4 separate regions of the Homo sapiens genome follow, and all the other regions are linked to region 3. The links are contacts of gene promoters, found by promoter capture Hi-C in blood cells and fetal thymus (Javierre and others, 2016). All regions are on one chromosome and are shown on one strand. The core of a region is centred on a gene start or on the middle of the fragment in contact, and the rest is flanking DNA. Distances in the headings are between cores, read along the strand shown.

Region 1 (5,538 bases), core at 2,322-4,821, 280 kb after region 3:
CTAGTACTACCACTACTGCTACTGCTACAGAAATGTAAAGTACCTACTAATGAACACTGTGACTCAACCCCAAGTTTTCTGACTCCAAATCCAGGACTCATTTTATACTTGTTGCATCTCAACAAATTAAAATGTTGGGCTTATCTCGGATTCACCACAATTGCTGCAATATAAGTATAAGTAATATCCATTATTAATATTTAAATTGATAAAAAACATAAAAATAACCATGCTTTAGTTTTTAAAAGGCACTAAAACCACAAAAGGAGAAAAAGAATTACAATAAAATTCCTCAAGAGTTAAAACAATAAAAATTCTAAAGCAGCCCTCATTTTTCTTTTACCTAAATTTATCCTTGAATAACTTCAACTGTCTGAACCATTACGTAAGATTTAAGCAAAACGAATCAGTATAAAAAAAGTCCATAACTTGAACTACGGCTCCATGACTTTGCCCGAGTTAGGGTAATTTAATTAAAAACCTGGTGTCGACTGCCTTAATTAAATTCATTCATACTCTCACAGTCTCAAAAGTTTTTACCCGCTGAAAGGTGTCTTGGTATACTTTCAAAATCACTGAAAGATTTGAATTGTTTAATTCTACACTCACAAAGGAGGTAATAGCAAACTGACACTTTTGAAGTTCCAACTGACAGTAATCAGACTAATAAAAGGTTCCCTCTTTGTAAAATGTTAATTTATCATAAAGCAGTTCTCTAAGGAAATACAGAATTCCAAACTATTTTACTAGTGTAAAGCACATATTATCCACTACTTTTGAAGTAATCCATAAAAGTTTCCCAATTATTGTGACCTTCTCTGTAGTTCATAAATATACACACAGATATGTACATGCATAGATATTACTATATATTTATTTTAGGAAAAGTACATTTTATATAAAAATGAAAGGAAATAATTCATTTCTGCTGAGAACCAAATGAAGTTAAACCTAAAACAGGACCCATAATGTTGTAATTTTAGAGTTGGGAGAACTCCTATTAGAGTTCATCTGCTCCAATTCAACGCACATTTACAGATGAGGAAAAAGATGCCTGGGAAGTTACATGGCTTGACAATAGGCACTTAACTAGTTAACAGAAAAGCCAATTCTAGATTCTTATTCTCCTGAGTCCCAGTGCTCTTTCCACATGATAATTTCAAGGGAAAGGATGTCTGGCCAAAAGGACATTATTAAACTGGAGCTTTAGGAAGTTTAAAAAAAAGTCCAGCAAATCTTTACAAAATGAATTCTTAGAAATTTAATGAATTGGCTGTATTAAAACTCTATAGATCATTTTAACCTTTTCTTTATATAAAGTTTTTGATACTAAAATTCAAATACTTTAAAAAATGAGATCATGCGTGTAAAACATTAACATTCTACCCAGATGATAGTGACAAATGGCAATTATAATCAATATAGAAAATTTAAAATTCAAATACTTCAAAAAATACTTTGAGTGACGGAAAGATGTATTAATTGAAGAAAACCATTACAACTCAAAGATTTGAATTATTTTTACCTTGCTTGAAAATCGTATTGAGCAAGGAAGGGAAGATATTAAAAACAAATTTGGAGCCAAAGGATTCAAACTGATTGCCAACTAGAATGTGTCACTGACAGACATCTGAAGGAAAAAAATATGGAAGGTGAAATAAAGTATTCTTTTTTTTTTTATAGACCTATGGATTAGGGGAAAACAAAAACTAGAGAGTTTCGTTTGAAACATAAGGTAGTCATGGATACTTTAACATCTGATATTTTTATTAATAACCCTGAAATTCCATGTTCTCTACACTGAGTTAGCCTACTTAGTATTGTCACAAAAAGGACCCAAATTCAAAATGATATAAAGTTGGAATTGTCAGCATATCTATAGTGACAAGTTGAGTAAATTTTCCTATGAAGAAAAATTTAAAAAACCACAAAACCAAGATATTAAAGTATTATTTTTACAGAAGTACTGTACAAAGAAAACTACCAGAATAGATTCTAATGTCACATTTGACTGTTAAATGTCTTTAAAGAAAAATAAGGATAAAAAATGTATCAAACAGTAAACATGAGGAAGAAATCAAAATCATTTCAGAGGTAAGAATTTTTAAGACATATAATGAACACTTTTGAAAGGAATGAGGCAAAAAAGCATCATATTCCTAAAAAGTGATCCTAAATTGAGGATGATACACCCCAGAGTGAGGCTCTAAGGCTTGCACATTAAATGCAAACTGCTGAGCTTCGTACATTTTAATGTGAATAAAGCAGTTTTCCAGAGCCAGTAGGTGGTAAATCTCCATACCAATATATTTTATTAATCCCAAAGGAAGAAAAAAGTGAAAGACTTAGGACAGTGTAATTATCAACAAATGTTCACTGAGCTGAATTTGAAGTTCTATTTCTTCAGTTTAGTTAAATGGTAATGAAAAATGCAGGTAATAAAGGGCTAAGTGAAATAAAACAAGGTCAGGGCTAGGTTGGGCCCTAAGATAGGTGAGGAAGGTGATTGCTAGGAAGTGGTTTAAACTAAAAGCTTCATCCTTATTTGGTTTCACTCCGGTGGGAAGTGTCTTTGCTCTACCAGAAACCAAAATGGGGCCAAAGTAAAGAGCTGAGATTCAGGCTAGGAATGTGTGTGAGAAAAAGCAAAGGCAAGCTGTAACACAAAAACCATAAGCCCAAAGCTCTAGACTAGTAAAGGGCTTGCAAACAAAGGAAGCACCTCTGTTACCATCATTGTTCTCTGAGTCTCTATTTTTAATTAACCACACCTGTATATAGGTTTAGGTTATGTCCTGAGCTGCTCACACTGCCATAAGGTAGAGTTTGAACATGAGTACTGACTGTGTGTGAGGAAGACCAGTGAGCATGGTAGAAGTACTGCTGCCCAAAGTTAAGCAAATAGGTAAGTGCCATAACCCAAAACACTAAGATCCTGTGAAGGATTATATAAAACATAACAAGGGGACAGTGGGACAGGGAGATGGGGTACAGGGAAAGTGGTAGGCCAACTTCTCTGTTTGTTGTCCCCTGAGTGGGAAAGACACATTCTGTCTTCGAGATGAGATTTAATTCAATGTAAGACACACAGCAAAACAAAGGTAAGGTGAGTGAAAATGGGCTTACATTTAAAATTAGATATCGGTAAGGATTTAGCATTAGAAAAACAGGGAGTGGATTATCTAAAGACTTTTAAAAAAAGACTCAAAAGTGTGTAGTCTAAGAAGTTAAAATGATACATTTAAGATTCAAAATTCAACTCTAAGGACTTAGGGACTGATAGTACAACCCAAAAACTTCAAAAAGTGAAACATAAGGAGAATCTGTTTTTCTTGTTGCTACATGCTTTTATTTTCTTCTCCAATCTGTGGTTCTCAATGGTGGGAGATTTTGCCTCCCATGAGACATCTGGCAATGTCTAAAGACATTTTCAGTTGTCACAACTGCGGGGATGCTATTGTTATTTACTGGGTAGAGGCCTCGGATGCCTAGAACGTTTAGTAATTCTACAATGCACAAGGCCGACTCCCACAACAGAGAATTATCCAGGCTAGACTGTCAACAGTGCCAAGGTTGAGGGAAATCCTGCTCCACACACACACACACACACACACACACACACAAGAAAACATACCTGGGTTCTAATTACATCACACATCACCAGCTCTAATAGGAAAAACTAGAACTTAATATCACTATCACTGGTAGGTAACTTACCTGTAACATGCACTGAGACACCACGCCCTCTGGAATTTCAGGGAAACGTTGTCGAAGATCATGGAGAACCTGAATATCAAGCTGTGGGCTGCTTTGCGCCATGCCAGAGCAAATGGTGGCCAAGTTTCTCTTAGGAAATGGATGTTAACCGGCTTTCCAAAAGTAATGATCTTCTAGCACCACAGTCATTTTCTATTTAAAAAAAAAAAAAAAGTATGGTTAAGTCTAGTTACATATTTTACTTTATTCCTATTGATCCTATACATCTCAGTAGTGGTGGCATCTCCTCTAAGGAGGCTTCCACTGACACTCCTTCTTAGTCCTGCTGCCTTGCCTCTCCCCTCCACAATGCTGCCAAAGCAGGCTGTGCTTACCCTCACAGAAACACTAAACACGCTATACTGAAACCATCTATGCACCTAAAGGTCTCACCTATTTAAAAAAAAAAAACAAAAAACAAAAACCTGAAGCCCCACCTGGAATATAGCTCATTATTAAAGACAGTGAGGAAGTACTCAAGAAGTGATGGGAACATATAAGGACCTGGAAGTCAACTTGAAGAGGTGCACTCACTGGCCACATTTGCAACAATTTGAATACCAAAATAATAAAAGACAGTAATGAGTTATAAACCTGTAGAAAAGAGGGAGCCGTGTGTCCGTATCAATGAAGATAGCTAAATACATACCTACAAAAATAGGGGAGAAGGGAAGTCCCTGCTTACAGTAAAATCCAATTGGTAAACATGCAGGAGTGCTGGAGCTGGAAGAAAAATCATTTTGCAGCCATCATAGTATAGACTACTTCAAGCAAGTATCATCAATGGATGCTAAATCTAGGGGAAAATCTGGATGAAGAGTAGGAAATACACACAGTTTTAAAAGTGTGTACCCAAAGCTTATTAGTTGCAAAGGGGAAAAATTTAATTATACAGTGGACAAATTGAACAACATCTTGACTGGGTGATCAAAATGATGAACATCACCAATGAGGGCCAGATGGACTGCACAGGCCTCCAGATGTGACACCATGAGAAAAACACATCATTTTATAGTATTACAGTCAGAAATGCATAACCTGAAACTAATCATGAGGAAATAGAACATTTCTCATTTTGGGCTTTTCTATTAAAAAGCGAAGGGGAAAGGAAATGTCATTTTAAGACAAAGGTTTGAAAAATGTCCCAGGTTAAAAAAGAGAGAGCCATGACAACTAAATCTTTTACCTGATCCTGATCCTATACTAAAAGGGAAAACTGTTAATAAAATAAATGAGTGGATCCACTGACCAAAGTGAAATGTTGATGGTAGATTAGAAGTATTCTATCAATGTTAAATGTATTGAATTTCCTGTTTTCTGAATTGATAACTGTGCTGTGGTTACATAAGAGAATATTCCTATTTTTCGGTATTAGACAATGAAGCATTCAGTGGTAAAGGGCATGCAACTTACTCTCAAACAGTTCAGAAAAAAATATATGTACATGTGTACATACAAACATGTGTACATGCACACATGCATGTGTGCACAGACAACTATAAAGCAAATAGGAAAATGTTAATAGGTAAATTTAGGTAAAGGGTATGCGGTGTTCTTTCTCCTATTTTTAGTCAGTTTAAAATTATTTCCAAATAAAAAGTAAAAATGACAACAAAAACCAGCTAACCAAACAAAAGCCTGTAGCTCTACTCAAGATCTGTGCCTTGTTCACCACTGTATTTACAGAGCCCAACTACTCAAGTATCTGTTAAATGATGAATCAATTTCACTATACTAAACCAGTCTACCTAATAAGATAGATTTGGATAAAACACTATTCAT
Region 2 (6,139 bases), core at 2,300-4,799, 300 kb before region 3:
TCTGCCATCAAGGGCCCTTGCCCCTGTGGAAATAGAGACATACGCAAGTCCCACACATTTAGAGAAACAACAACAAAAAAATTGGGATGCAGTAAAATTAAAAAGCACTGGTCTATGAACCAGAAGATTTTGGTTGTGCCCCATTGGCACTGTTCACAATGAGTGAACCTGGAGAAGTTACTTGACTTCTTGGGATCCTATGTTTTCATTTGTAAAACAAGGCAACAGCTTGCTTCAAGAGGTTACAAAGAGGTTCAAATTAAATGTTATATGTGGATAGGCCTTAGAAACAGGAAAGTTCTACGTAAATGTGTGGCATTAAAAGGCAAAAGAGGACAAGATGTAATTACCCACACCTGTAATCCCAGAACTTTGGGAGGCTGAGGTGGGAGTACCACATGAGCCCAGTATTTCAAGACCAACCTGGGCAACATAGTGAGACCCTATCTCTACAAAAAATGAAAAAATTAGCTGGATGTGCTGACACATGCCTGTAGTACCAGCTACTCATGAGGCTGAAGTGGGAGAATCACTTAAACCCAGAAGGTTGAGGCTGCAGTGAGTCATGATCACGCCACTGCACTCTGGCCTTGGCAACAGAGTGAGATCCAGTCTCCAAAAATGAGAAAAAACACCAAATAATCCAAAAGGGGAAAAAAGAATTTAAAAGCATGAAAAGTACTAAATGAAATTGTAATAATAATACATAATAACAATATAAATAAATATGCATTGATTACTATTTCTGAGAGCTGTCATAATATATATAAAATCATATATAATATAATCATATATATGATTATATATGTGTAAATATATAAATTTTTTGTTAATTTCCACAAGAACTTTTGAAGTAGGTACTGTGGGTATTATTATCCCATTTTACAGACAAGGAAAATTAAGGTTTAAATATGTTTAATCAGTTGGCCAAGTTTACATAGCTAATAAATAGCACAGCCACAGATGAATATTATAAGATTTTTTTCATTGTTTTGTGTGATTTCAAGGAGAAAAAAATGGAAGATGGTAAAATACGATACTGTGCTTTTTCTACTGCAGCTCCTATTTGATCATTTAATGTGGGATAAGATTGAATATGTTGATTATCATGAAGACATTATTAATCAAAAAATAATATACAAAATCTAATCAAATTATAGCCCTATAAAACAGTTATGTTTTGAAATAATATTTCTAATAAGAACCATGAGAAGAAGTTGAGAAGATATTTATTACAGACAGATATTTATGACTAAAAAATACATACAGGTAGTTTATTGAATACGTTGGATTCAGTGGGTTGAAATTATGAAATGAGTTCATTTTTTCCACATCAGGGGATCTCAGAGCCTTTCCTATATAAGCAGATCACAACCATTCCTAAAAGGCCCAGTTCATGTAAAATGAAGATCCTCCTTCAAATACCTACTGTTTTGATAGCTGTCCCAGTTAACAATTATTAAATAATTATTGAATCATAATTAAGTACAAACACCTTGGACCTTACCAAAACCATACATACATTTTCTTATTATCTAACGGATTCAAGGTGGGGTGAGGTAGGTAAGAGTAATGCATTTCCTGAGAATGTAGACACAGGCATATCTTGTTTTTTTGTGCTTCACTTTATTGCACATCGCTGATACTGTGTTTTTTACAAATTGAAGGTTTGTGTTAATCCTGTGTTGAGCAAGGCTATCAGCACCATTTTTCCAACAGCATGTGCTGACTTCAGGTCTCTGTGTCACCTTATGGTAATTTTCTCAATATTTCAAACTTTATTACTATGATCATATTGGTTATGGTTATCTACAATCAGTGATCTTTGATGCTACTATTAAAATTGTTTTGGAGTGCCACAAGCTGCACCCATATAAGGCAGCAAACTTAATCGATCAGTGTTGTGTGTGCTCTGGTTGTTTCCCTTGCTCCCATCTCGCTCCCTCTTCTCAGGGTTCCTTATTCCCTGACACACAACAATATTGAAATTGGGTGAACTGATAACCCTATAGTGGCCTTTAAGTGTTCAAGTGAAAAGAAGAGTTGTAGGACTTTCAACTTTAAATCAAAAGCTAGAAATGATTAAGCTTAGTGAGGAAGGCATGAAAAAGCTCAGATAGGCTGAAAGCTAGGCCTCTTGTGCCAAACAGTTTGCCAAGTTTTGCATGCAAAGGAAAAGTTCTTAAAGGAAATCAAAAGTGTTACTCCAGGTAATACACAAATGATAAGAATGTGAAACATGCTTATTGCTGATATGGACAAAGTTTGAGAGGTCTGAATAGATCAAACCGGCCACAACATTCCCTTAGGTCGAAACCTAATCCAGAGCAACACTCTAACTCTTCAATTCTATGAAGGCTGAGAGAGGTTAGGAAGTTGCAAAAGGAAGTTTGAAGCTAGCAGAGGCTGATTCATGAGGTTCAAGGAAAGAAGTCATCTCTGTAACATAAAAGTGCAAGGTGAAGCAGCAAGTGCTCTTATAGAAGCTGCAGCAAGTTATCCAGAGGATCTAGATATGATCTAAGATGATGAAGGTGGTTACACTAAACAACAGATTTTCTTTGTAGATGAAACAGCCTTCTTTCAGAGGAAGATACCATCTAGGATTTTCATAGCTACAGAGGAAACTCAATGCCGGGCTTCAAAGAATCAAAAAACAAGCTGACTCTCTTGTTGAGGCCTAATGCAGCTGGTGACTTTAAGATGAAGCCAGTGTTCATTTATCATTCTGAAAATTCCAGGGCCTTTAAGAATTATGCTAATTCTATTCTACCTGTGCTCTATAAATGGAAGAATAAAGCCTGGATGACAGCACATCTCATTACAGCATAGTTTACTAAATATTTTAAGCTCACTGTTAAGACCTACTTCTGAGAAATAAAGATTCCTTTCAAAATAATACTCCTCGTTAGCAATGCACCTGGTTACCTGTGAGCTCTGATGGAGATGTATAAGGAGATTCATGTTGTTTTCTTTTATTATTATCATTATTATTATTATTATTATTATTATACTTGAAGTTCTAGGGTACATGTGCACAATGTGCAGGTTTGTTACATAGGTATACATGTGCCATGCTGGTGTGCTGCACCCATTAATTCATCATTTACATTAGGTATATCTCCTAATGCTATCCCTCCCCCCTCCCCAACCTCATGACAGGCCCCGGTGTGTGATGTTCCCCTTCCTGTGTCCATGTGTTCTCATTGTTCAATTCCCACCTATGAGTGAGAACATGCGGTGTTTGGTTTTCTGTCCTTGCGATAGTTTGCTGAGAATGATGGTTTCCAGCTTCATCCATGTCCCTACAAAGGACATGAACTCATCATTTTTCATGGCTGCATAGTATTCCATGGTGTATATGTGCCACATTTTCTTAATCCAGTCTATCATTGATGGGCATTTGGGTTAGTTCCAAGTCTTTGCTATTGTGAATAGTGCCGCAATAAACATACGTGTGCATGTGTCTTTATAGCAGCATGATTTATAATCCTTTGGGTATATACCCAGTAATGGGATGGCTGGGTCAAATGGTATTTCTAGTTCTAGATCCCTGAGGAATGGCCACACTGTCTTCCACAATGGTTGAACTAGTTTACAGTCCCACCAACAGTGTAAAAAGTGTTGCTATTTTTCCACATCCTCTCCAGCACCTGTTGTTTCCTGACTTTTTAAAGGAGATTCATGTTGTTTTCATGCCTGCTAATACAACATCCCTTCTGCAGTTCGGGGATCAAGGAGTAATTTTGGCTTTCAAGTCTTATTATTTGAGGAATACATTTTTTAAGGCTATAGCTGCTATCATTTCTCTGATGGATCTGGGAAGAGTAAATTGAAAATCTTCTGGAAACAATTCACCTTTTTATATGCCATTAAGAACATTCATAACTCATGAAGAAAGGTCAAATTATCAACATTAACAGGAGTTGGGAAGAAGTTGATTCCAACTCTCATGGATGAATTTGAGGGGTTCAGGACTTCAATGGAGTGAGTCACTGCAAATGTGGTGGAAATAGCAAGAGAACTAGAATTAGACACCTGAAGATATGACTGAATTTCTGCAATCTCATGATCAAATTTAAGCAGATGAGGAGTTGCTTCTTATGGATGAGCAAGAAAGTGATTTCTTGAGTTGGAAACTACTCCTGGTGAAGATGCTATGAACATTATTGAAATAACAATGAAGGGTTTAGAATATTCCATAAATGTGGTTGATAAAGCAGCAGCGGGGTTTGAGAAGATTGACTCCAATTTTGACAGAAGTTTTACTGGGGTAAAATACTATGAAACAGCACTGTATGCTTCAGTGAAATATTTGATGAAAGGAAGTGTCAATCAATTCTGTAAACTTTATTGTTGCCTTATTCTAAGAAATTTTAAGCAATCGCCACAGCCACCCCAACCTTCAGCAATCAGTACCCTGATCAGTCAGAAGTCATCCACATGAAGGCAAGACCCTCCACCAGCAAAAAGATGAAGACTCACTGAAGGTTCAGATCTTCATTAGCATTTTTAGCAATAAAGCATTTTTTAAGCAAGGTGTGCATGTTGTTTTTGAGACACAATGCACACTTAATAAACAACAGTAAGTACAATTTTAAAATCCAGTAGGAAATAAAAAAATCTGTGTGACTCACCTTACTGCAATATTGACTTTATTGCAGTGGTCTGGAACCAAACTTGCAATATCTCTTAGGTATGCCTGTGTATGAAAACCTAGATGTTCTACCTCAACATGTATCAGCTCAGCATGTTTTTAAAATTCTTCATAAAACAGGAACACATTTATTCTGAGTATTCAAAGCACTAGGAACCATTTCCTGACAGAGATCTGATCCTAGGGGCTCAGTGAGACCAGTGCCATTGCTGAATTGTACAATCGTTTATTTTCTTTGTGGAGTTTTGCTTCTTGTGTCTCACAGGCAGCAGCTCTCATTGCAGAGCAGGTATCTCAGAGATTGAATGAAGTTAACCCTTTTCTGTCATTACACCATTCTAAATATTTATTCGTCAAGCTTAATTCCTGTCTTCAAAATTGTACATCTCAGTGCTCCCAGTTTTCGCTCACATACTCACCATATGCTTGTCTGTAATTATTATGGCTCATTGACTATTGGTATTTGCTGGATGCTTTCCTCTTATTTTGCTTAATTCCTATTTTTTAATCTTTAGTGCTTTTTGCCTATCTCTGCTTCCATAGTGTTTATTTTGAGCTCATAGCTTATTGGTTTCTCTTTTCATATGTCATTCAAATTTTTTTCTATAGGCCTCACAGAGTTCTTACACAAAGTTTAGTCATCGATATCCTTCAGAAAATTTGTCAATATTTGATTAAACATCCAAAAACCTAGATCGATTGTTTGTTTAAGTTAATGTCCAGAATTGCATTCAATTCATATGAATAGTCACTACATATCAGTTTTGGGTTAATGAAAACATTTATACATTAATGGTCAATATTCCACATGATCACTTAATGAGCATTAGCTGAAGTGTGACCACGAAAACTAGCCCTAGCAACCCCTTGAGTAAAGACTCCAGAGTTTTATGTTGCTGTGCCATGATGATTCATTTGTATGAGTCATGTTTTCAGCAATATTTTTCTCCTTTGTCATTTCAAATTGTTGGTCAGCCTTTGTCACTGTGACTCATGGATTTTTACAAAACACAGAGAGATAGAATGGCTAAGGTCATTGGCTCTCCCTGTCCTTTGTAAAATCTCAATCTATTAAATGATCATTTTGCCTGTTCCACAGTTCACATGGGGATAGAGGGAGATAGATTTTGAAGCAGAGAAGGGAAGAAAAAGAAAGAGATTAAAATTTGGGGCTGAGGTTGGAAAAGGACCACAGGTTGAGGGTCCTGGTGAGAGTAAGGGAACCTATATATAGTTCAGAGGCTGTCCTCCAAGGAGATGACAACCTTCAGAGGGATGGCTTGTGATGAGCTCAGGGAATCTGGACAGGGGCTCCCAGACTCACCAAGTGAGTCACAAACATGTCTTAGAAACAGTGAAACTATCTGACCTGAAGAGACTCTGACCAAGCCTTAATAAAGGCTGAAATTGCATTTCCCGCCAGCCTGGTGGGCTGAAGCTTGGGTTTAAATTCTGGCTTAATTTTATTCAAGCGGGACAAAA
Region 3 (5,804 bases), core at 526-3,025:
TGTACTGATATAAATTTCTTTGGTGTTATAATTGTTAATCATTGTTAATCATGTTAATTATGCCAATTTCATTAACATTTACTTAATTGTAGGCATGTCAACTACAAATGCAATGCAAGATTCTTGATTGGATCCTGGATTTAAAACATAAAAAGATTCTAAAGGACATGTGGATAATTAGGAAAATTTGAATGTGTATCACATCTTAGATAATAGTATTGTGTTGATGTTATGTTTCCGTGGTGTTGTAATGTGTTATAGAAGACTGCCTTTATTTTTAGGAGATACATGCTCAAGAATTTAGGGGTGACATGTGTCCTAAAGTCAGCAACATACTTTCAAACCATTCAGGGAAAAAACTGTGCATATGTGCATGCGTGTGTGTGAATATATATATACACATATAGAGAGAGAGAAAAGGACAGGCAGAGACAGAGAAAGACAAAGCGAGAGAGAAAGTAAATGTGGCAAAAAGATACCACTGATTAATACACATGATGAAAATATGGGTGTTCGTTGTACTATTCTTTCAATTTTTATATAGATTTGAAACATTTCTAAATAAAAATTGGGAGGGGGAAAAAACCATATTTAGTTAATGAAGGCATATTTACATTGTATAATGTTTATTAAGAGCCTAGAGGGACAATATCTTATATATCTAAAATAATCACTACATATGAGATGAGAAATGTCTCAGTGACTTGATATAAATACTTCAAACATCATTTTGCTCTGAGATAATAGAATTAGTGTACTACCTTTGAATATCTCCAAAATTCCACTTATGATATGGATGTTTGACACAGACTTCAAATACTCTTCAATCCTCCAGAAGCTTCTCAAGCTCAGAAACAATCTTCTTCTCACACTGACCTATGCAAGAAATGTTATAAAATATCAATATAAATATTCTGTCCAAACCAGGTCTATATTTAAGCACAGATTCATATGCGCAAGACAAAGAATGTTTGAGCGAGTCTAAAGATAATTCAAACAAAACTCCACTCGTACATGCGCTATCTTTAATACCAAAAGGGAAGCTTTCCCCAAATCACCCAGATGAAAGTCGAAAAGCATCCTCACTATAGATCGCATTCATTTTGAATACATCCTGCCACACAGAAAAACACTATCACAAGCTTGCTGAACTGAATAATTGAGAGTCAAATCCAATTGGAAAGGACTGTGATTGTTTTCGTCTCTAAAACTGCATCACCGTAACTGAATTCAAGAGCTGTGTTGTCCCTGCAAAACCCTGCTTAGGTTTTTAGGCCTTCTTTTAAAAATGCAGAAGCTAAACCAGTGTGGCAATTAGTGAAAGAGGACTGCAAAAATAACACAATAAATATTTGCTCAGATCAGTCAAAAATTGTAGGTAAAAATATAAGTGTTTTAGAAATGCTTAGAATGTGGACACGAGGAGGTAAGGAAAGGAAGTATTGGGCTTAATTTCTCTTTATTTTTCAACTCCACTGAATGCTTGTTTAAACTCCCACTTGTCTCTGATATGGTAAGCTAGAAAAGCATTTTAGATGTCATAAGAATGGATCAGCGCTCTCGTGATAAAGGGCTAAGAAAGCGTGAGAAGACAGATGACAAAAAATAATAGCGGAGTTCTAGGGTCCTTTGCTTTCTTTTTCTTACCTTCACTAACCAATCTGCTCATCTGATCCGGCAGAAACACAGCAACTGACCAAACAGAGAGATGAACAAGCCAGCCAATGCTCTTTCCAGAAATTTTCACAAGCCTTTCACTGATGAGACCAGTAGACTGAGCTGCTCAGTGCAAAGCCATTCTTTTTATAATTGGTCCCATGGAAAAAGAGTTGTTTTTGTTCAAGTCCGATTTGTGCTAAAGAGGCAGTGGGAAGTCCCGGGAGGTGGGGAGGCAGTAACTGACAAAGCCACATCAAGCCACAGAATGGTGTTTCTTCCCCTTTTTCGAAAAATGAAACCTATCTACGAAACTGTCTCTTATTAAAATAGTTTATGGTTACACATTTTGTAAGAACCCTAGCAACAGAATTAAATTTCCTTTCTAGAAAAGTACATTATCTGGGATCCTTCACCCAAAAGAAAGCCAAAGTCACATATGACTTTAGGAAATTCTGTTTCGTTACTAATCTATAATTTTTAAGAAGTATTATTTCTCAATGGTACTTATAATTTTTAAAAATGTAAATGAAAAAAATTTTCTCGGCCGGGCGCAGTGGCTCACGCCTGTAATCCCAGCACTTTGGGAGGCCGAGGCAGGTGGATCAGGAGGTCAGGAAATCGAGACCATCCTGGCAAACACGGCGAAACCTCGTCTCTCCTAAAAATACAAAAAATTAGCCGGGCGCGGTGGCGGGCGCCTGTGGTCCCAGCTACTCGGGAGGCTGAGGCAGGAGAATGGCGTGAACCCGGGAAGTGGAGCTTGCAGTGAGCCGAGATCGCGCCACTGCACTCCAGCCTGGGCGACAGGGCGAGACTCCGTCTCAAAAGAAAAAAAAAAGAAAAAAGTTTTCCCTCTCCAAATACCGAAGGTCAAAACAATAATACATGGTGTGGGCAAAGTTGTGAAGAAACAAGCACTCTCAAACACTACTGATGAGATTGTAAACATATTTAGAGGGCAATTTCCCAGTATCTCTCAAATACAAATATTCATACCCTTTGACCCAACAATTGTATTTTTTATAAATTTGTCCAAGCTATATGTTTACACTTGTACACAAAGACTTATGTGAAAAGATATTTGTTGCAGCATTGCTTGAGAAAATAAATGACTAGAAAAAATTATATCCATAAATAAGATATTGGCCAAGTAAATGAGAACGTATGCATACTTAAAATCCTATGTAGGTTGTGTGCGGTGGCTCACGCCTGTAATCCTAGCACTTTGGGAGGCCGAGGCAGGTGGATCACTTGAGGTCAGAAGTTTGAGACCAGCCTGGCCAACATGGTGAAACCTTGTCTCTACTAAAAATACAAAACTTAGCCACGCGTGGTGGTGGGCACCTGTAATCCCAGCTACTCGGAGGCTGAGGCATGAGAATCCCTTGAACCCGAGAGGTGGAGGTCACAGTGAGCTGAGATTGTGCCACTGCACTCCAGCCAGGGTGACAGAGCGAGACTCCATCTCAAAAAAAAAAAAAAAGAAAAAAAAAGATCTCTAACATATATTGTTTAGCAAGAACTCATTTTCCAGTTTGTATTTTTAAGGAATATATGTATATACATGCTTATGTAATAGAATATTTCTTTTTAAAATTTTGTATTTTAATTTTTGTAGGTATACAGTAGGTGTATATATTTATGGGGTACATAAGATGTTTCGATACATGCATATGATGCATAATAATTACATCATGAAAAATGGGGTATCCATCCCCTCAAACATTTATCTTTTGTGTTACAAAAAATCTAATTATACTATTTTAGTTATACTAAAATGTAAAATTAAGTTATTATTCACTACAGTATCCCTGTTGTGCTATTAAATACTTTGTCTTATTCATTCTTTCTAACTAGTTTTTGCACCCATTAACCATCCCTACCTGCCCCACCAGCCCTCCACTACCCTTCCCAGCCTCTGGTAACCATGCTTCTACTCTCTATGTGCATGAGTTCAATTGTTTTGATTTTTAGATATCACAAATAAGTGAGAACATGTGATGTTTGACTTTCTGTTTCTGGCTTATTTCACTTAACATAATGACCTCTGGTTCCATCCATGTCGTTGCAAATGACAGGATCTTATTCTTTTTTGTGGCCGAATAGTACTCTATTGTGTATATGTATCACATTTTCTTTATCCATTTATCTGTTGATGGACACTGAAGTTGCTTCCAAATCTTAGCTATGGTGAACAGTGCTGCCACAAACATAGGAGTGCAGATATCTCTTCAATGTACTGATGTCCTTTCTTTTGGGTAGATACCCAGCAGTCCGATTGCTGGATCTTATGGTGGCTCAATTTTTAGTTTTTTGAGGAACCTCCAAAGTGTTCTCCATAGTGGTTGTACTAATTTACATTCCCACCAACAGTGTATGAGAGTTCCCTTTTCTCCCTATCCTCACCAGCATTTGTTATAGCCTTTCTAGAATATTTCTTTTTTTATGCTACACACAAGAAATCAGAAATAAGCAATTGTGTTTCAGGAACAAGACTCATTTTTCATTCTATACCCTTTTGAAATTTCTGTGTGTATGTATTACTTTTTCATTTTAAAAACTAGTATTCTTAAGTCATATTTAACTTTGATTGTACGGCCCAAATGTATTATAATCTATGTCTTTTCTGGAGGACAGACAAGTCTATCTGCAAATGGGTCAGTTCTTCTTGCCCAAAAGCAGAAAAATTAAGGGTTTCAAAATCATTTATCTGGTTTACCCTGACTGCTTCAAGTTAACCAACAAAGAATAAGCCTGCCCAAATCATAACTACTTCACTGTCTTTTTCTACCTAACTCCAATCAAAACTAAGTTCTATGGATACAAAAAACAAAACAAAACAAAACAAAGCAAAACAAAAAACAAAGCTAAGTTCCAAACTCTTAAGAGGTGAACATTTCCACTTAATGGGTTTGATTTTGTTTACTTTTGTTCAACGACTTATCTTAAAATGTCATATATTTTAAAGTATACTAGCATTTTTATTTTTGTTAGTCATGATTTTCTGCATTATTTTTTCATGAAACATTACTTAAATCCACTTTAGAAGGCATGCTCTCATGTATGAGCCATGATAAGGACAGTTTCTCAACTAGTCCTGAATCTGACTTGACCTACCATCACAGGAAACACCAGACTCATTGCCCCAGGGGCAAATTCAGTTACAGTGTAATCTTACAAAATCAGGTTCAGTGATGTCTTCAGGCATTTTTAGCTCATCAAGGATTTAGCTGTGATCAAGAGACCATAGCACCTGTAGGGCCAAACATTGATTTATTTCACTTTAGTGTTGCTTCATCCACAGTCATGAGACACCGTAGAGTAGGTCTTACCTACCTCCAGAAACACTTTATGGTGGGTTACCAAGAACTCGCCTGGAAGTACAATGAAATAACCATTGTGGGGTGATTCCATCTTCTCCACGTTGTCTTAAGTCACACTTACTGTTTTATTCAAATACAATATGCAGAATTTTGATTATGCCCACTCTTGATTTTGTCTCTAAAGTTACCCCTTTGATGGAAAAACCTCCTTTGCAGAAAAAAGATTCTGTAAGGAAAAAATGGGCACTATGCCAAGCTAACCTACTATTTCTACTATTTCTCATTTGATAAAACCTGAGCATACAAAATCAGCTTTAAACAGCTTTTTCTTTACTGGTTAAAATAAAATAGAATTATATCCCTTGTAGCTGAAATCTTATAATATGATTTTCTATTAATCTGCTGAATAGTAGGTAAAAGTTATTGCCTCGATATCTGTGCCTCTAAATGGACATTATTCCTATTATTCAATTACTTTTCCTGCTGTACAAAACACCCTCCAAGTTATTTCCATTATGATAGCATCCCTCCTAGCTCACTCTCAATCCTCACCAGGTTTCCTCCACCCTGGCTACCCTCTATTCACCTCATAGTGCTCCTAGTAGCACTCTAAATTCCACAACAATATGTCTTTCTGTCACATCCTACTTGCCAATTTCCAGTCCCATATAAAACCATTATTGCCTGGCCGGGCACGATGGCTCACACATGTAATCCCAGCACTTTGGGAGGCCAAGATGGGCTGATCACCTGAGGTCAGGAGTTCAAGACCAGCCTGGCCAACATAGTGAAACCCTGTCTCTACTAAAAATACAAAAATTA
Region 4 (6,100 bases), core at 299-2,798, 260 kb after region 3:
AAAGATCAAACTTGCTTTGTTAACTTTTTCTGTTTTCTATCTCATTGACTTTCCTTTCTTCTACTTTGTTTTTACTTTGTTCTTGTCTTGTTTCTTAAGGTAGAATTTTAGATATTCCTGTCTTACATGAGCATTTAAAGCTATAAATTTCCTTCTAAGCACTGCTTTAACTATCGCATGGGAAAGAATTTTGCCTTGCCCAAACAGAGGTCTGGCTTTGTCCCTGGCTCAAAACCTTGAAATTTCCTGAGTAACGGCAGTGTCTTTGTTATTTATGGTGGGTCCCTCAGACCGCATGATATGGTTTGTCTGTGTTCCCACCCAAATCTCATCTTGAATTCCCACATATTGTGGGAGGGGCCTGGTGGGAGGTAATTGAATCATGGGGGCAGGTCTTGTGATAGTAAGTCTCACGAGATCTGATGGTTATTATAAGGGAGAGTTTTCCTGCACAAGCTCTCTTTAAGATGTGACCTGCTCCTCCTTGCCTTCTGTGATGATTGTGAGGCCCGCCCAGTCTTGGGTATGTCTTTATCAGCAGCGTGAAAACAGACTAATACACCACACCTATAGGGAGTTTATGCTGAGGGATGGCTCATGATGCACGTGTTTTCCACCATTTCTAATCAACTTGGTCCTGTTTCCAGGGTAAAAACTTTCCAATGCACTCCCTTAGACAGGGCAATTGCTCTAAGACAGCTCTTTGAATCAATGAACTAAAGTTTGTCTGGCGATACTTCTTTAGTAGACATTCAGGCAAAATCGAGTTTAAAGACTGATTTTATGAACCCAAAAGACTAAATTGATCAATGCTAACTATACACCTCAGTGACTTTCGGCAAGAAACTGCATATGATGCTGCCAAAGTGCCAAATCTGGCACTCGGCAGTCATCCACTAAGATGATTCTTTGTGCCATTTTTAGAAATCAATAGACTATTTTTTGGCCAGGTGCGGTAGCTCATGCCTGTAATCCCAGCACTTTGGGAGGCTGAGTCACTTGAGGTCAAGAGTTCAAGACCAGCCTCGCCACCATGGTGAAACGCCGTCTCTACTAAAAATACAAAAATTAGCCGGGCATGGTGGTGGGTAATCCCAGCTACTTGGGAGGCTGAGACAGGAGAATCACTTGAACCTGGGAGGTGGAGGTTGCAGTGAGCTGAGATAGTGCCACTGCATTCCAGCCTGGGTGACAGAGAGAGTCTCCATCTCAAAAAAAAAAAAGAAATCAATAGGCTGTTTTTAAATGTAGATCAGATGAAACATCGATGGTAATATTAAACAATAAAAAGAAGAACAGATACTATGTTGCAACTTATAAATAAAAAAAAAAACACTCTGTAATGAGCTTAATATACGTAGAAAACTATTCAACCAAAATTTAAGTAATTAGGTCAGGTAGTATTATTTAGATAGAATTTATACATTCTTTTAATTAAGTCTGATGAGATGTTAAATGTTATACTCTCTGGTAATTTTTTTCAAAAATAAGGCATTCTCCACTGTTCTATGTGTCTTCATGATCAATCTACCTTGAGTTGCTTAAGGCAAAAAGGATTAAAATATTAAGAATGAGGCAGAAAGTTAATCTACATTCAATGACTACTTATTTATGAATGAATGAATAAATGACAGGGTCTCTGTCGCCTAGGCTGGAGTACAGTGGCGCGATCTCGGCTCACTGCAACCTCCACCTCCTGGGTTCAAGTGATTCTCATGCCTTAGCCACCTGAGTAGCTGGGATTACAGGCGCGCGCCATCAGGCCTGGCTAATTTTTGTATTTTTAGTAGAGACGGGGTTTTGCCATGTTGGCCAGGCTAGTCTCGAACTCCTGGCCTCATGTGATCCATCCGTCTGGCTTAAATGACTGCACGTGTAAATTCAATTAAAATTAATTTTTTAAGATACAGAAATGCCAATTAAACATTTGCTACATAAAAATAAGAACATGTTTGATATCTTTAATTTTAAATCATTTTTATGTAACAACTATCCAAAAATGATTCCTTCAAACCTTGGTTATATAGGATTTCTTTTGTTCTTGATGGGAAAATACCTAGTCGCTACCAATTGCTATGCTCCCCTTTTGAGTACACAAGTATTCTTTTGTTGTCTGAAAAATAATCTTAAGTCTATTGCAAATCTAACTTTCTATTCTCACATTAGACCTTTAAAATCCTCATTATTTTATGAGAATTATCTTTTAGGGTTATAGTTTTTACAATGCTAAGTAAATTTATAATGTTAACTATGTAATATAGTGTTTCAGCTTCTGTTTGTAAAAAATTATATAGTCCATCAAATTACCTCTGACAGTAATTCTAAGAGTTACTAATTTCAGTACTTTTTAAAAACTAAAGTTTGGGGACATTTCATTATTGCCACATTATAACACCAATATGGTAAATTTGTTGAGACCAGTGAGCAACATGGTGAGATCCCATCTCTACAAAAAATAAAAAAAAATTAGCTGGGCATGGTGGTGTGTGCCTACCATGCCACACACCAGCTACTTGGGAGGCTGAGGCAGAAAGATCGCTGGAGCCCAGAAGGTCGAGGCTGCAATGAGCCATGATCACACCACTGCACTCTAGCTGGGGCAGCAGAATGAGACCCTGTCTCAAAAAAATAAAAATAATAAAAATATGGTAACTTTATGCTGAACAACTTAACCTCTAGTGGAAATTTCTTCAGATAAATGTGAAATCCCAAATTATTTTGACATTTATTTCTATCGTATTTGTGACATTTTTCATACTCACCTTTTTTAGATGGCTTGGGTGGTACAACTGGGCCAGGTTCTATGTTGTCATAAAAATTATTCATGGCTTTTGGATCAAAGTTTCCTATAAAGAAAGTAAATTCATCAGGCATTTAAGAACTCTTTTTTCCTGTTATTTGATTTTTTTTTAAAGAAAATATGTAAATAAAACACATAAGAAGGGAAAAATGTTTTCCAGGATTTCAAAATTCATTACATAATTCTGTCCTCCCAATGAAATTGTGTTTTCATCGCTGTGAGAAAAGACCCAAGAAAACCACTACACAGATGTATGTCTACAATGTATTACACTTAAAGGAATATTTTTCTAATTGTAAGGCTAGTCTCCTTAGGCAGGATTAGGCATGTGGGGCATTTGGGGAGATAAATGAAGAAGAGAAATGAAAGGATGGTTGAACTGTTTTCTCTTTCTGCTTGTTTTGATTTTTAATGAACAAACTGTGAGAAAGAACACTTAAATAATGAAAGCTTACTTTCATATTTATCATAATTTACCTTAAAAATTCATTATAAATTGAACTACAGAAAAAGCCAAATATAAACATTTACAAGGATTAATCAAGTTATATTTTGAGACTACTAAGCAACCTCAATAAATGTGAAATAACATCAGCAGTTTATGTATTCTTATTTTCAAGAAAAGGAGAATCTTACACTAAGTGTTAAATGTTTCCTACAGATTTATCAATGATAAAAGGTGCCAATTTCAGAATAGATAGAACAATACCTGAGAATTTTGTCTTGCCACAAAATTTTCACCTGTCTGTCTTCAAATGTTCATTCCCTGGTCTAGTGTCTGTATTTCAGCCACATCTCCTGCTGTGTCTCCTCCAAGGTTGGTTTTGGGTCCTGCCTTCACTTCTGTGAACCTATCACTGTGCTCTGCTTGTTCTAAACGATTACAGTTAACTGTAGCCATACTTATTTATAGAAGATGCTGTATGGTACTAATACTGATAGTTTAAATATATTAAATCTCTTCATTTCCAGATCTACTTTTTTTTTTCCCAACAAGTTTTCCTTACCAAAAATCACAAAAAAGCTGGTTTTCATCAAGTCATGCACTGATTTGCATCTATTCTAAATGCTTATTCCCCTGCCTCCCCCCGTCACCACCGAAAAAGGTTTAGATTCCTTCCCTAGCTTAAAAGTTTAGATTGGAAACTCAGTATAAAAAGTTTTCTGCAGTGTGGAAGAGTAGAATTTAGTATAAAATGGATACATTTAGATTCGTTATGAAAAGAGATTTAGAAATGCCTAAGTATCCCAAAGAGCTCATTGTCCAATGCAGACAAAAAACACAGCTCTTTGCTTATAAAACCTTAATAGTGGTTTCCCTTGCAGGCCCTTTCACAAATGTTTTATCCACTTGAATATGCTGTTTTAAGATAATTTTCTGAAAATAATTGCTGTGATAGCTCATAAAAGCCACAGTGCTATTTGATGTATTAATTGAATCTTTTTATGCTTTAAGAAGCTGCATATGTATTTCTTCAATTACTTGTTACAGCTCATGTTCTAATTTCTAGATCACAAAAGGCTTACTATAAGTATCCTAACCAAATGTTTTACTGTTTGTTTTGCTCCAAAGACCACACAAGTAAAAGAAATTGATGCAATCTTCTAAAATATAGTAGCAATAGTTTATGTAACCCCTACATCATGCATAGTAATTCTTTGATTGCTTCAAGTTAGTGGGCTATAGAGTGACTAGGCTTCTGAAAATGACTTTAAGGGTACCTGACTAGATTGCTCAATTCTCACATTCAAATTTGCTTCTGTCTGTTGTTCAGATAATGCCGTGTCTTTTGGGTTCACCTGCCACTAATCTTTAATCTCTCGCTCTTTGTTTTTTAGACCGAGTCTCCTTCTGTTGCCTAGGCTAGAGTGCAGCGGTGTGATCACGGCTCACTGCAGCCTTGACCTCCTGGGCTCAGGTGATCCTCCTGCCTTAGCCTCCCACGTAGCTGGGATCACAGGCACACACCACCACACCTAGCTAATTTTTAAAAAATTATTTGTAGGGATGGGGTCTCCCTATGTTGCCCAGGCTGGTCTCTAACTCTTAGGCTCAAGTGATCCTCTCACCTTGGCCTCCCAAACTGCTGGGAATACAGGCATGAGCCATTGTGCCCAGCCTACTGTTTGTTTAATCTTGCCTAAAAATGGCAGTGAGATATTTTATTATATACTCTTAAAACACTGTAGAAAGTCTTAGCTGCCATAATCAAGAAAAGTTAAGTGTGGGGGATGGGGGGCAGGAAAGCTGATTAATACACAGAATTAAGAAAAATTACACGTCAACTTTAACGTAACAAAACACTTGTATATAGCTATATTTTAAAGTTAGTTAGATAAAGACCTAATTTTTACGTGTCTGTTGGCTGGGGTTCCATATTGTATTTCTTACATAAACCACACCCATGATGACCTACAGCAGAGGTTGGCAAACCTTTTCTGTCAAGGGCCAGATAATATTTTAGACTTTGTGGACCTGTGATAGAGTCTCTGTTGCAAGTAGTCAACTGTGCTGTTGAAGCACAAAGGCAACCATAGGCAATATGTAAACAAATGGGCATGGCTATCGCTCCACTAAAACTTTTATTCACAGAAACAGGCAACAGGCCCTAGTTTGCTGAACCCTCATCTATAATTTTGATTGCTTTAGAATGGAGCAAGAAAGATATTAAGAACACTTATAATGCAATTTGAGTACAGAATCCTTTTAGACTTTTTTCAGTTGTTTTCACCCATATCTAATTCACAATCCCTATTTTTTGAGTGATTTGCCTTTGGCTTTCATAGAAAGAGCGGCTTTCTCCTTCATGTCAGTTTATGAAACATTAAATTGCAGAAATACAATAACTGGCATAAACAGGTTTGGGGACAGAATCAACTCTTGGTAAGCAGACAATTCAACCGATGGGAGCAATATTCATGGGCCTACCAGAATGCAGCCTACTAGTCAAAAGTATGCAGCAGCTGTGGACATCAGTCAGTATATTTTCCACAGAAAATGAAGACCATCTCTAATCTGGTGAGTTGGGTAAATGAAAGTTTAAGAGAGCTTCTGCTGTAGTATACTTCTGTAAAAAAATCCAAAAAACTAAAACTATGATTATAGTTGAATGTTTTCACATAACATAACATGAAAAATAACATATATAGAGTTTATTTTAAAACTGAGAAATCTGATACTCTGATTTGGGATCCCTTTTTACAGATATTTTAGATGTCTATCACATAATATGAACTCTACTAAGTTTTAGAATTAAAACCCATCAATTTATAAAATATTCACAGTAAATGACAAAAAGA

Evidence for each region. Contacts are between HindIII fragments. The CHiCAGO score rates a contact against its expected background, and 5 or more counts as called.
Region 1: a contact is called between a fragment that was not itself captured here and the fragment with the promoter of TASL in region 3, in 3 of 17 cell types (neutrophils, monocytes and naive B cells). The highest score is 6.6, in neutrophils.
Region 2: a fragment that was not itself captured here is called in contact with the fragment with the promoter of TASL in region 3 in 1 of 17 cell types (M1 macrophages); the score reaches 7.9 in M1 macrophages.
Region 4: a contact is called between a fragment that was not itself captured here and the fragment with the promoter of TASL in region 3, in 1 of 17 cell types (neutrophils). The highest score is 13.1, in neutrophils.

Annotation. Positions count from the first base shown.
Region 1 is chrX:30,855,770-30,861,307 of GRCh38, forward strand. TAB3 (TGF-beta activated kinase 1 (MAP3K7) binding protein 3) reads right to left here. Exons shown (of 11, transcript NM_152787.5): 5 at 3,718-3,909. The coding sequence starts at 3,819. Among named protein-coding and RNA genes, the nearest start is that of TAB3-AS1, 24 kb to the left of the region's middle. The HindIII fragment of the contact is 2,081 bases long and covers 2,532-4,612 here.
Region 2 is chrX:30,278,047-30,284,185 of GRCh38, forward strand. No RefSeq gene overlaps it. Among named protein-coding and RNA genes, the nearest start is that of NR0B1, 28 kb to the right of the region's middle. RefSeq lists a silencer at 4,246-4,347, an enhancer at 5,031-6,139 and a cis regulatory region at 5,380-6,120. The HindIII fragment of the contact is 2,928 bases long and covers 2,086-5,013 here.
Region 3 is chrX:30,575,991-30,581,794 of GRCh38, forward strand. TASL (TLR adaptor interacting with endolysosomal SLC15A4) reads right to left here and starts at 1,776. Exons shown (of 3, transcript NM_025159.3): 1 at 1,648-1,776; 2 at 762-876. RefSeq lists an enhancer at 1,798-2,007. The HindIII fragment of the contact is 8,514 bases long and covers 1,141-5,804 here.
Region 4 is chrX:30,840,204-30,846,303 of GRCh38, forward strand. TAB3 (TGF-beta activated kinase 1 (MAP3K7) binding protein 3) reads right to left here. Exons shown (of 11, transcript NM_152787.5): 9 at 2,763-2,846. Among named protein-coding and RNA genes, the nearest start is that of TAB3-AS1, 8.6 kb to the left of the region's middle. The HindIII fragment of the contact is 3,399 bases long and covers 1-3,248 here.